Regions from separate parts of the Homo sapiens genome. Here all the other regions are linked to region 1. Evidence: promoter capture Hi-C in human tissues and cell types (Jung and others, 2019). All regions are on one chromosome and are shown on one strand. Each heading gives the region's core, a stretch centred on a gene start or on the middle of the fragment in contact. The rest is flanking DNA. Distances are from core to core; before and after follow the strand shown.

Region 1 (3,548 bases), core at 376-2,875:
CTCTTGGAAACAGGTCCTTAGGCAGATCCTTGTCTGTCCAGGCCTCCACCTCACCAGTAAGCCAGTGTTTTTATTCTTGTTGTTTTAGAGGCTGGATCTCGCTCAGTCACGCAGGCTGGATTGCAGTGGTGCCATCATAGTGCACTATAACCTGGAACTCCTATGCTCCACCCGGCTGGGACTGCCGCGCAGGCTAGTGTGCCCTGCGCTCATTTCTTAGGGTTAACCCTAACCCACTTAATGAGCACCCACGACTCCCCAACCCGAGCCCCACTCAAGCAGAAGGCCTCAGGCTGGTCGGCAGCAGGGTTTCTTCATGTCCTTTCTTGGTTCTCTGATGATAGGCAAAGGCAGTAGAGACAGAAAGGAAAAGAGGAACGGAGTGCAAGAGACAGAAAGGAGAAGAGGAACGGAGTGCAAGAGACAGAAAGGAGAAGAGGAACGGAGTGCAAGGCAAGCCACCCTAAGAGGCCAGCCCTGCCAGCAGCACAGATCCCTCCAAACCAATAGGTCCCTCCAACTCAGTAGATTCCTCCAACCCAATAGATCCCTCCAACCCAACCTCCAGCATCTGTGCAGCATCCTACCAACTCCGAGGCTAGGCGGCCACACTGGGAGCAAGACCCCAGGACCTGGTCCAAGTGCCCTGCACCGGCCAGGGGAGTGGACGACGAAGTGCGGCTCTGCTAGCCCGGGAGGGCTCTGGGGCCTCGGCCCCGCGGGACTGGAAGGGAAAACACCTGGCACGGTACGTACTGGCCCTAGGAATTTGGCACAGCAAGATGCTGGCAGTCCCTGGGTGGCGGTGGCAGGAAGGGCCCAAGGGCAACATTGGTCTAGGAGGTCGAGAAAAGGCGCGCGATATATGGCCCCCAGGATGTGGAAGCTTGCTTGGAGCGTTCGGCTCCAGGGCAGCAGCGCGTGGAGGGCCTCAAGGATGCAGTATTTGCCCGGGGTAGGGGGGCGAGGGACCCAGAGGCAGCAGTGCACTTGGACTTCCAGGACTTCCAGGGAAAGGCAGGAGACATGGCGCATGTGGTTCCCAGGATGTGTAAGCGCGTGGAGCGCGGCCCCGGGGCAGCGGAGAGTGGGGTTTTAATATCTAGCACATGTAGACCCTGGGGCGGTGCTGCTAGGGGCGCGGACCCGGGACCACCGGAGCACTTGCACCGCGGGGAAAGCTGACAGGGCGCGCGACCCTAGGAGGCTGCCGCGCCGCCTGGTGCGTGAAGCTCCAGGGCAGCGGAGCGCGGGGACCTTGAAGGCTGTCGCGTGCAGGCGAAGGGGCCGCAGGGTGGTCGCTCCTGGGAGAGCAGACGGGGAAGAAGGCAACGGGAGGGAGGGCGTAGCGCGAGCAGTCCCGGACGCGGGCTCAGGAACTGGCCGCGAGGAGCGCAATCCAGCAGGCGCGCCAGGGCCCCCGGATCCAAGGTGCGGGGTCCCGATTGGGCGCCTGGACGCCCCGTGACGGTGGCGCCGCTGCCACTGTCCCGAAGCGAGGCGAGGCCAGGCGCTGCGCTTTCGGCTGCCCGCCCCTTCTCCCCGCCCCGCGCTCAGTCCCCTCCCTCCGTCCCGCCTCCTGCCTCGCTCCCTCCCTCGGCGGCTGCTGCGCCGCGCTCCCGGCGCACTCGGAGCCCGGCGGGGACCGGGAGGCAGAGACGGGGCGGCCGTGGCTCCGAGGGCGGGAGCTGAGCCGGGCCCCGGGACCGAAGTTTGGCGGCGGCTCCGGGAGGCAGAGCGGGCTCCCCGGGCGACTTCCAGGCCCCTCTCGCGTCCTCGCCCCGGACCCGTGGGCAGCCGGGGGGAACGGAAGCCGCGGCCGGGCCAACTCCGAGGCGGGGACGCCGCGACGGGAACTTGAGGTGGGAACTTTGCGCGCTGCAGCCTCGCCGGGCGCCACCGAAGCGCGAACCGGACCCCGAGCCTGCAAACTCGGGCTCGGGGGCGGCTGCACGTGGCCGTGGCCCTGAACTCCCTGCGGGGGCCTCGAAACCCGCCTGCGGGGAGGCCAGGGCGACAGAGGACTCGGGAGTCACCGCTGGTGCGTGGCGGCGTGGAGCGCGCTTGTTACGGCCAAGGTGCGGGTCCGGCTTCGGTTCATCCCAAGGGGTCACCGGGATGCGAAGTCCGGGACGTTCGCCGCCGCGGTGACCCCGGCGGGGGCGCATCCCGGCTGTGGGCCGAGGTTTCTCCCCCGATCCTGGGAGGAAGGAGAGTTAGGGATTGGGGTGGGGGAGTGTGTGTCACTTGCTCATTCACTGTATCCTTAGGCACAGTATGGAGCCCCCCTTCACCCCCACCGTGGGCCTGATTGAGTCATTCATTATGAACACAGCAAGCGTTTATTGAGCGCCTACTGTGTGCTAGGCACTGGGGATACTGAGACAGTTCACTGGGCACCCCCAGGAACTGGTAGGAAGGTGGTGGTCTCAGCCTTAGGGTTTCCATGTGGGAGAGAGGCTCAGCCCGGAGGTATGGAAGGAAAAGGGTGAAGTTCATTCATTCATTCATAGATTGGACAAAGATTGGTTGAGCACCTATTGTAAGCAGCTCATCATACCAAGCGCTCAACAGTCATTCATCCAGTTCACAAACATTTATGGAGGCGCTATGCTGGGGAGAAGTGAAGAGGGATGGAATGGGGGCACCCTTCATGCAGCTTAGAGAGAAGTAAGGATTAAGACCCAGGCCCCCGCTTGGGAGGCCGCAGACTGCCGGGGTGGCCAACTGTAGCAGCCCATGTATATAGGCAGAAGTCTTGGTTCATCTAATGCATTCCTTCTCAAGGTGGGAGGTGTGGAAGCTGGAATTGGTTCTAGAATAGGAAGAAAAGATCTTTTCAAAGCTCCTTAGGGGCGGGTGATGGGGTAGGGTGGGGAGGAGTTGAGAAACACTGATCCGACATTACTGAGGAATGCAGGTTCCCACCAATGGGGTTTATGAGTTAGGTTGTCCATTCAGCAGGCATTTTCTTAAGCACTCGCTGTTATTAAGCACTTAAAGGGTGCCAGGCACCAAAGTTACCCAGGTAAATGACAGACACATAGAAGAGGGAGACAGACACAGACGCCCCCACCCCCTTTGCTGACTCCCTGAGATAAGTACAGGGGGAAGTAAGAGGAGGGAGCAGGAACTGGTCTGATTCATTGTGGGGTGGGGGAAGTTCCTGCCCTATGAATCTGAGCAGAGGTTTATTCATTAGTGTGTGTTTGATACCCCCATACCCATGATGGCAGAGTCCCTATGAAGAGCCTCACCGGCAGCACATCTCCAAGAAAAGTTTGGCACTGCTGATTGGGGCCTTGCGGTCGGCACTGTGGCTAGGGCATGCTGTCCTTCTTTGGGGGATTTTTCAGGCTCTGCCAGACCTGAGCTCTATTTGTGCCTCCCCCGGCTTTTGGAGCCCTGCAGAGTCGCCTGATAGGAGGGGAAGGAGGGAAGGTGTGTTTGAAAAACAGGCAAGCGCTGGCCCCTGGGGATCACCCTCCTCAGTCATTCTCGAAGCCAGCCCGTTCCACGGGAAAGATGTCTGTCCTGGGACACACTCC
Region 2 (3,604 bases), core at 802-3,301, 66 kb before region 1:
TATTTCAACCCTAGAAGGCAGGTACTGTTAGATCCCCTTATTACCAACAGACAGAGCGTAGTCACTTGCACAAAATCACCGAGACAGTAAAAGGCGGGGCCAGTTCAAACCCAGGCAGGCAGGTACCTGAGCTAAGTCAGGGGAACTAGAACTGGCTCCTACCAGCTTGAGAAAGCAAGTTGTTAAATATCCAGGTGTTCTAGTGATTAAATGTGGGAAAATGGAGGGTCTGACATGCCTCATCATACCCTGTAGCTGTAGCTGTGGGACCTGTAGCTGTGGGACTCTGGGCACATACTCAGCCTCCCTCCCTGAATCTCAATTGTTCCATCTGTAAAGTGAGAATGTCAAAAGTGTACCTCCTTCATATGGGTGCTGTAAGGTCAAGCATGATGCTGTTTGTAGGAGAATTCTACAAGTAGGTTGTTAAATCATTGGTAGCAACCTTGATAGAAATCAGCCATGATGTATTTACACCAAGGAAATCAGCAATCACTCTAATCCTGGGCTCTTCCCCGGCCCTTCCCACATCCAGTTTCCCAGCACATCATCGATGACCACGCTGGGAGAGAACTTTTGGCTTCTCCTTCCTACTTGTAATAAACCCTGACATGCTCATGGCTCTTTAGGGTTTACAATATGCTTCTAAATCCACCTAAACCAAACCAACGAAACTGTGAGGGAAAGATTATTTGCATCCTCACTTATTTGTGGGATCTAAAAATCTAAACAATTGAACTCAAGAAGATAGAGAGTACAGGGATGGTTACCAGAGGCTGGGAAAGGCAGTGGGAAATTGGGGAGGTGGGGATGGTTGATGGGCACAAAAAAATAGAACAAGACCTAGTATTTGATAGCACGACAGGGTGACTATAGTCAATAATTGTGCATTTTAAGATAACTCAATTATTTATTTATTTATTTTATTTAAATAATTACTTTAAATAATTTTAAATAATTGAGTTATTTTTAAATGTACAATTAAATTGTACATTTAATTTAAAATGCACAATAATTAATTGTACATACTGTTTTATTTTAAAACAGTATAACTGGATTATTTGTAACACAAAGGATAAGTGCTTGAGGGGATGGATACCCCATTTTCCATGTTGTGATTATGACAGATTTCATGCCTGTATCAAAACATCTCATATATCCCATAAATACATATACCTACTATATACCCACAAAAATTGTTTTTAAAAATTTTAATTATTTGCATTGATGATGATGATCAAAACAGCCTCCATGAGGCGATCAACCCAAGGGCCTAAGAGGACAGCAGACCTTCTGAGTTCTAGCCAGGCCCTTTCATCTTGCAAGGCAGCCGCCCCAGAAGTGGGTAGCAGGTAGGGTCTGTTTAAAGCTATCCAGCATCTCCATGGCAACAGGCAGTAGCTGCCCTGTGGGCGTTGGGGAGGGGACCCTCTGCCTCATTCCACAGAATGATTCCACAGGTCCCACGGGCCCCGCTGAGGAGTCAGCAAAAGCTTTCTGCAGTTTCCACATGGAGACGATCTGGAGGTGGAAGTTAAGTGGGTGTAGATCTCAAGGCAAGTAAAACTCCGAAGTCAAGTCTGACTGAGCCCAGTGCTTTGCATAAGAGAGAAATAATAAATGTTTCATGAATGAACGAATGAATAAGTGAATGAATGAAAAGTTTTGTCTATACTCAGAGATTTACAAACTCAGTCTCAAGCATTAAGAGAGGGGCTTGTTCATTCCTGAATTTCACTAATGGCTTCCCTGCATTCATGCTCTTTGCTTCAGCTTTCTGGTCCCACACTCCCTGACTCTGGGTTCAGGCATATGACTTGCTTTGGCCACTGGGGTATGTTAGCCCATCTGATGCCAGCAGAGCTTGAAAAGCCTGAGGGTATTCCCACTTGTCCTCCTGCATGATTGGGATACTATAGCTCTCTCAGGGACCACTGCCACCGCCATGGGAACGTGTCAGACTGTGACGAATGTGGTGGTAGGTGGAAGAGCCAAGTGGTCCCAGCAAAGACCATGCTAGACCACCAGCCCCCAGCGGAACCACCAGCTGACCATGGACAAATCAATGGGACCAACTGGGATCAGCACAACTGCCCAGCCTACACATCAACTCATGAGAAATAATCATGATAATAAAAGGTTATTGGGGCTTTTTCATTTTAAAAAATGATTTATGTTTTAAAAATAAATGTTATTGTGTATATTTGAGGTTTACAACATGATGTTATGGGATACATATGGATAGTATAATGGTTTAAAAATTATTGCTTGAAAGGACATCAAGATGGAAATAATAGGCACTGGGGACTCCAAAAGGGGGAAGGGTGAGATGAGAGTGAGGTTGAAAAACCACTTATTGGGTAGAACGTTCACTGTTTGGGTGATGCGTCCACTAGAAGCCCAAACTTCACCATTACACAATATATCCATGTAATAAACTTGCACAGGTACCCCCTGAATCCATAATAAAAAATATTCTTAAAAAGGTTATTTGTTTGAAGCCATTACGTTTTGGGGTTATTTGTTATATGTCAGTAGCTACCTGATACAGGCTGCCTGCTTTGCAATTCTCCAAAAAGCTCAGAAGGGCCTGCTTCTTTCTTCTCTCTGAGTCTGCTGCCTCATTGAGAATTCTGATGAAAGGCTTCAGTGTAGCTGCTTCTTCACTAAAGACTCAGGTACAAGATCATCTCCCATTGAGGGAAACAGGGAAATCTGCCTTCAGCTAAATGAACAAGGACATCACCGAATACCACCACTCCCTTGGGAAATATACTTTAATAGTCCCCGTAGCTGAGAATGACACAAAGAAATTCTGAAGAAACAATAAGCTTCATTTATCATTTCTGCTTTAGAAGAAAAGTTTTGCCTGAATCATTGCTGATCTGTCTCCCCTGCAACCACCATTTACCTGCAGCCAGATTCCTTGCCAGGATTAGAGGACATCAGCTAGTCTAGAACTGATGACTTAAAAGGTGTTCGGGCTTTACCCTTCTTAGGGGATCCCTTTTTCGGGGATGACATAAAGTCCCAAGATACACCAGAATCAGCGCTGCTAAGGACTGGCAGGATCCAAAATGTGATTTTCGGTCTCTTCCCAGTGGAGGTGAAACGAAGTGGTCTGTACTCTCTCTACTCCACGTGTGGTCCAGGGACCAGCAGCATGGGGATGGAATTATCTGGGAGTTTGTCACAAACACCAAATCCCAGGCCCCATCCTTAACCTCCTGCATCAGAACCTGTGCTTTGACAAGATGCCAGGTGATGCAACTGTACATTTTGTGCAGGAAACTCTGCTCAACAACACCCGTCTCTGCTCGTGGAAGTTCATGTAAGTTACAGGGGTTTTAAACCAGAACATCACCCTCATTCTCAGTGTTATAAAGGACACCCTCCACTAACAGAACACAAATTTCCCAACCCCCAATGCGTGCAAGGCACACACACACACACAGGCATGCACACACTTCCCTCAACCAGGCTGGTCAAAGTCCCTCACTTGTGAGTCCTACTTGAAAGATTATGTCTTCTGAAACACAGCGCTTTGTACCTTAAAGGGCCTCTCAAATGTCCCACTGAGACCCAGGGGTTCATTCACCAGAAG
Region 3 (3,614 bases), core at 31-2,530, 85 kb before region 1:
AGAAGAGATTGAAAGGAGCTTCAGTGTCAAGGTCAGCCTTGGGGCTCATTTGGTTGCAAATGATGGAACCTCAATCTGTCTTCAGGCATGGATGGATCCAGGTACTCATGATGCAATCAGGAATTTGTCTCTGACCATCTCTGGTCTCTGTCTTCCTCTGCATTGGCTTCATTCTTAGAGGGCATCCCCCATGTCCTAGCAAAATGGCCTCTGTAGTCCCAGGCGTACATCCTACCAGCTGAGCACCCACAGCAGAAAGATCATCTCTCGTTTAATAATGCCCGCAAAAGTCCTGGGATTGGCTGTGAGTTGCCCGACTTGGGTCACATGCTCATCCCTAAACCACTTTCTGTGACCAGAGGAGCATGCATATGCATTCTCCTATGTCAGGGATGGGTCACACATCCCCTGTCAGCACCAAGGGTCTGGAGTCAGACCTTCTTGAACCACAGGGTCTGAGAGCGGAGAACTGCTAACTCATCAAAGTCAAACTAAGGCTCAGTTACCAAAATAAGGGGGGAAGTGATACCAGTCAGATCAGAACCACCATCACCCAGTAGAGGCTCCTGGGAGAGTTTATCTCAAGGAGAGATGACTTAATGCTGCCACTGTGTGAGCCTGGGATCCCAAAGGAAGGCGTGATTCTCAGTATACATTGGTGTCTAAACCCTGAGCCCCACCTTAACCAGGTGACCTTGACCATGTGTGCTCACCCCGAGGAGGAGCAGCTGTGGGTATAGTGTATAAAGCCTAATCCCCAAGCACTGTGCCGCATCAGGGTCCCAGCAGCCCACTGCAGTAGCCCGCCACGAAAGCATATGGCAAAAGTCAGGAACCATCCCCTCCTTAGCTGCTGTGCCGATCGGTTACCACGAGCTTAGGAAGCGCTGGCGGCTGGGTGACCAAAAGGACCTGCTCCCCAGCACAGGCAGAGCAGCAGGACTTAAAGGCTTGTCTCAGGGGAGGCATCAGAAACTGTGGCCACGGAAGCCACACGTGGCTGGGGCTGATATGTGTGCACATGTGAAACCCCTGGATACAATCAGAAGTGTCTGATGAGTGAGCAGATCCAGGCAGGAGTAACAATAACAACCATAAGCCACCTCGTACCAGGCAGGCACTGTACTGAGCACCTGAGGACATCATTTCTTTTCATCCTAACAGCAACCCCAGGAAATAAGAATCACAACCCTTCTTTCATGGATGAGGAAACTGAAGTTGAAAGAGATTATTTCACTTGCCCAAAGTCACACAACAGTAAGTGCCAGAGCTGGGATTTGAACCCAGGACTCCTGTACCACATAGGTCCTGCTATTCTCACTTCAGTATGGAACCCCCCATACACACACACACAGACACACACACACACACACACACACAATATGGAACCCCTCCATACACACACACAGAGCAGGTAAACACTTTGCACACATCCACAGTGAGGTACCAGATCGTGCAGGTTACAGAGAAAATGAAGAATCATCCATGGTCCAGAAGTAGACATTTTAGTGCTGGGGGCTGGGTTCTGGTCCTGATTGCAACCGTTTTAAGCTTCTGGCCTCTTGCAAGTCACCTAAGTCTCTCCTAGCTGTTTTATCCCCTGTAAAAAGGGAATGATAGTATCCTGACCACCCCGAGAATTCCATAGGTTCATGCACATGGATGTGTTTGAAAACCGTGAAGTGCAGCATAGATGTAAATAATCGTAATAATATTCTGCAAAGAGGAGGCCAATTAATGTATTAAATATTTTTGAAGGAGAAAATGGTTTGTGTTGATACCACAACAGTTTCTCAGCACGAACAATACCATCTGCCTGCAAATATTGTGATGTGGGAAGAAAGAAACAATCTTTACCCAATTATCTTCCTTATAAAGATATACTGAAGTACAATTAATTCTCTAACTCTTCTATAATATTCTCTTAATTAGTGGTAAAAATAGGCATTTCTTCCCAAAGCTTCTGCTGTTATATACTAAACGCTGCTTCCTCATTCGTAATATGCTAATATACTAGTAATTAAGAGCGTTGAGATTCTGTTTAATGACTGTGTTTGGTTTGTTGAGGATAATTGCATCTCCTACCCACTATTCTGGAGTTCCCAGGCACAATCTAGGAGCATAAATGGGCACAAAAGGAATAAGGGGAGCCCCTCCCCTCTCTGGGTGGTGGCCCCTTCCAGACCTGTCTTCTCTAGACTCTGAGGGGCACGAGCTTGAGCACTTTCCCTCCTCCTTCCTGCAAAGCGCAGTGTTCTCATGGCACGCGCATTTCCTCCTGTCCCTGCCTTTGGACTTGACATCTCAGTCCCTCCAGACTTCTCACCTGCAGCCTGCAGCCTGAAGACACCACCTAGCGCAGGCTTCTCAGCCTCAGCCCTGCTGACATCCGGGGTGGGAAAATCGTCTCTCGTGGGGGCCGTCCCCTGCACCATAGGATGTCCAGCAGCATCCCTGGCCTCCACCCACTAGTGAGTAGCACCCCACCTCCCAGCTATAACAATCAAAAATCTCCCCAGGCACTGCCAAACATCTCCTGGGGCAGGCGGGGCGCAAAATCAGCTCCAGTTGAGAACTGCTGACCTGGTGTAAAAAGATTAAGAACAATGGAAAAGTCTATTCATGGAGGGTCAATTAAATAAATCATGGCACATTTCTCTAGTGAAATTTCTTCAGCAGTTAAAAAGAGTAAGTCGGCCCTATGCAAACCGATAGAACAACCTCCAAGCAAAAAAGTCAAGGAGCAGAACAGCATCTATAGGAAGCTGATTTTTATGTTCACTATATTTGCATTCCGGAGAAGGACACAAGAAGATTGTAACAGTTGTCACCTCCTTGGAGGACACTTTAGTCTGTTCTGACTACTATAACAAACTACCATTGACGGGGTGGCTTGTAAACAACTGAAATTTATTCCTCACAGCTCTGGAGAGTGGAAAGTCCAAGGTCAAGGTGCCAGATAGATTTGGTGTCTGGTTGATATGGTTTGGCTGTGTCCCCACCCAAATCTCATCTTGAATGTAGCTCCCATAATTCCCATGTGTTATAGGAGGGACCCAGTGGGAGGTAATTAAATCATGGGGGTGGTTTCCCCCATACTGTTCTCGTGGTAGTGAATAAGTATCATGAGATCTGATGGTTTTATACAGGGAAATATCTTGCACTTGGCCCTCATTCTGTCTTGTCTGCCGCCATGTAAGACGTGCCTTTCACCTTCTGCCATGATCGTGAGGCCTCCCCAGCCATGTGAAACTGTGAGTCCATTAAACCTCTTTTTCTTTATAAATTACCCAGTCTCAGGTATGACTTTTTCAGCAGCATGAAAATGGACTAATACGCCAGTAAGGGCCCATTTCCTGGTTCATGGTTGGCCGTCTTTTTGCTGCATCCTCACATGGCAGAAGGGGAAAGGGAACTCTCTCAGGCCTCATTTATAAAGGCACTAATCCCATTCATAAGCTCTCATGACCTAATTACCTCCCAAAGGCCCCACCTCCCAATTTCAACATGAATTGCAAAGGAACACAAACATTCCATCCATAGCAGAGGGTAACCAGATAGCTGGACATCAACACAGAAGAAAGCCTTGACATGTCTCAATTTTTGTATGAATT

Evidence for each region. The method cuts DNA at HindIII sites, captures the fragments that hold promoters and counts their contacts. A contact is called where the count stands out against the background at its distance.
Region 2: a fragment that was not itself captured here is called in contact with the fragment with the promoter of KCNG1 in region 1 in 6 of the 25 tissues and cell types used here (IMR-90 fibroblasts, aorta, dorsolateral prefrontal cortex and 3 more).
Region 3: a fragment that was not itself captured here is called in contact with the fragment with the promoter of KCNG1 in region 1 in 5 of the 25 tissues and cell types used here (H1 embryonic stem cells, IMR-90 fibroblasts, dorsolateral prefrontal cortex and 2 more).

The regions. Positions count from the first base shown.
Region 1 is chr20:51,021,184-51,024,731 of GRCh38, reverse strand. KCNG1 (potassium voltage-gated channel modifier subfamily G member 1) reads left to right here and starts at 1,625. Exons shown (of 3, transcript NM_002237.4): 1 at 1,625-1,862. RefSeq lists a silencer at 1,527-1,696 and an enhancer at 3,421-3,548. The HindIII fragment of the contact is 10,697 bases long and covers 1-3,548 here.
Region 2 is chr20:51,087,373-51,090,976 of GRCh38, reverse strand. No RefSeq gene overlaps it. Among named protein-coding and RNA genes, the nearest start is that of KCNG1, 66 kb to the right of the region's middle. RefSeq lists an enhancer at 3,305-3,604. The HindIII fragment of the contact is 3,469 bases long and covers 317-3,604 here.
Region 3 is chr20:51,106,094-51,109,707 of GRCh38, reverse strand. No RefSeq gene overlaps it. Among named protein-coding and RNA genes, the nearest start is that of KCNG1, 85 kb to the right of the region's middle. The HindIII fragment of the contact is 3,896 bases long and covers 1-3,228 here.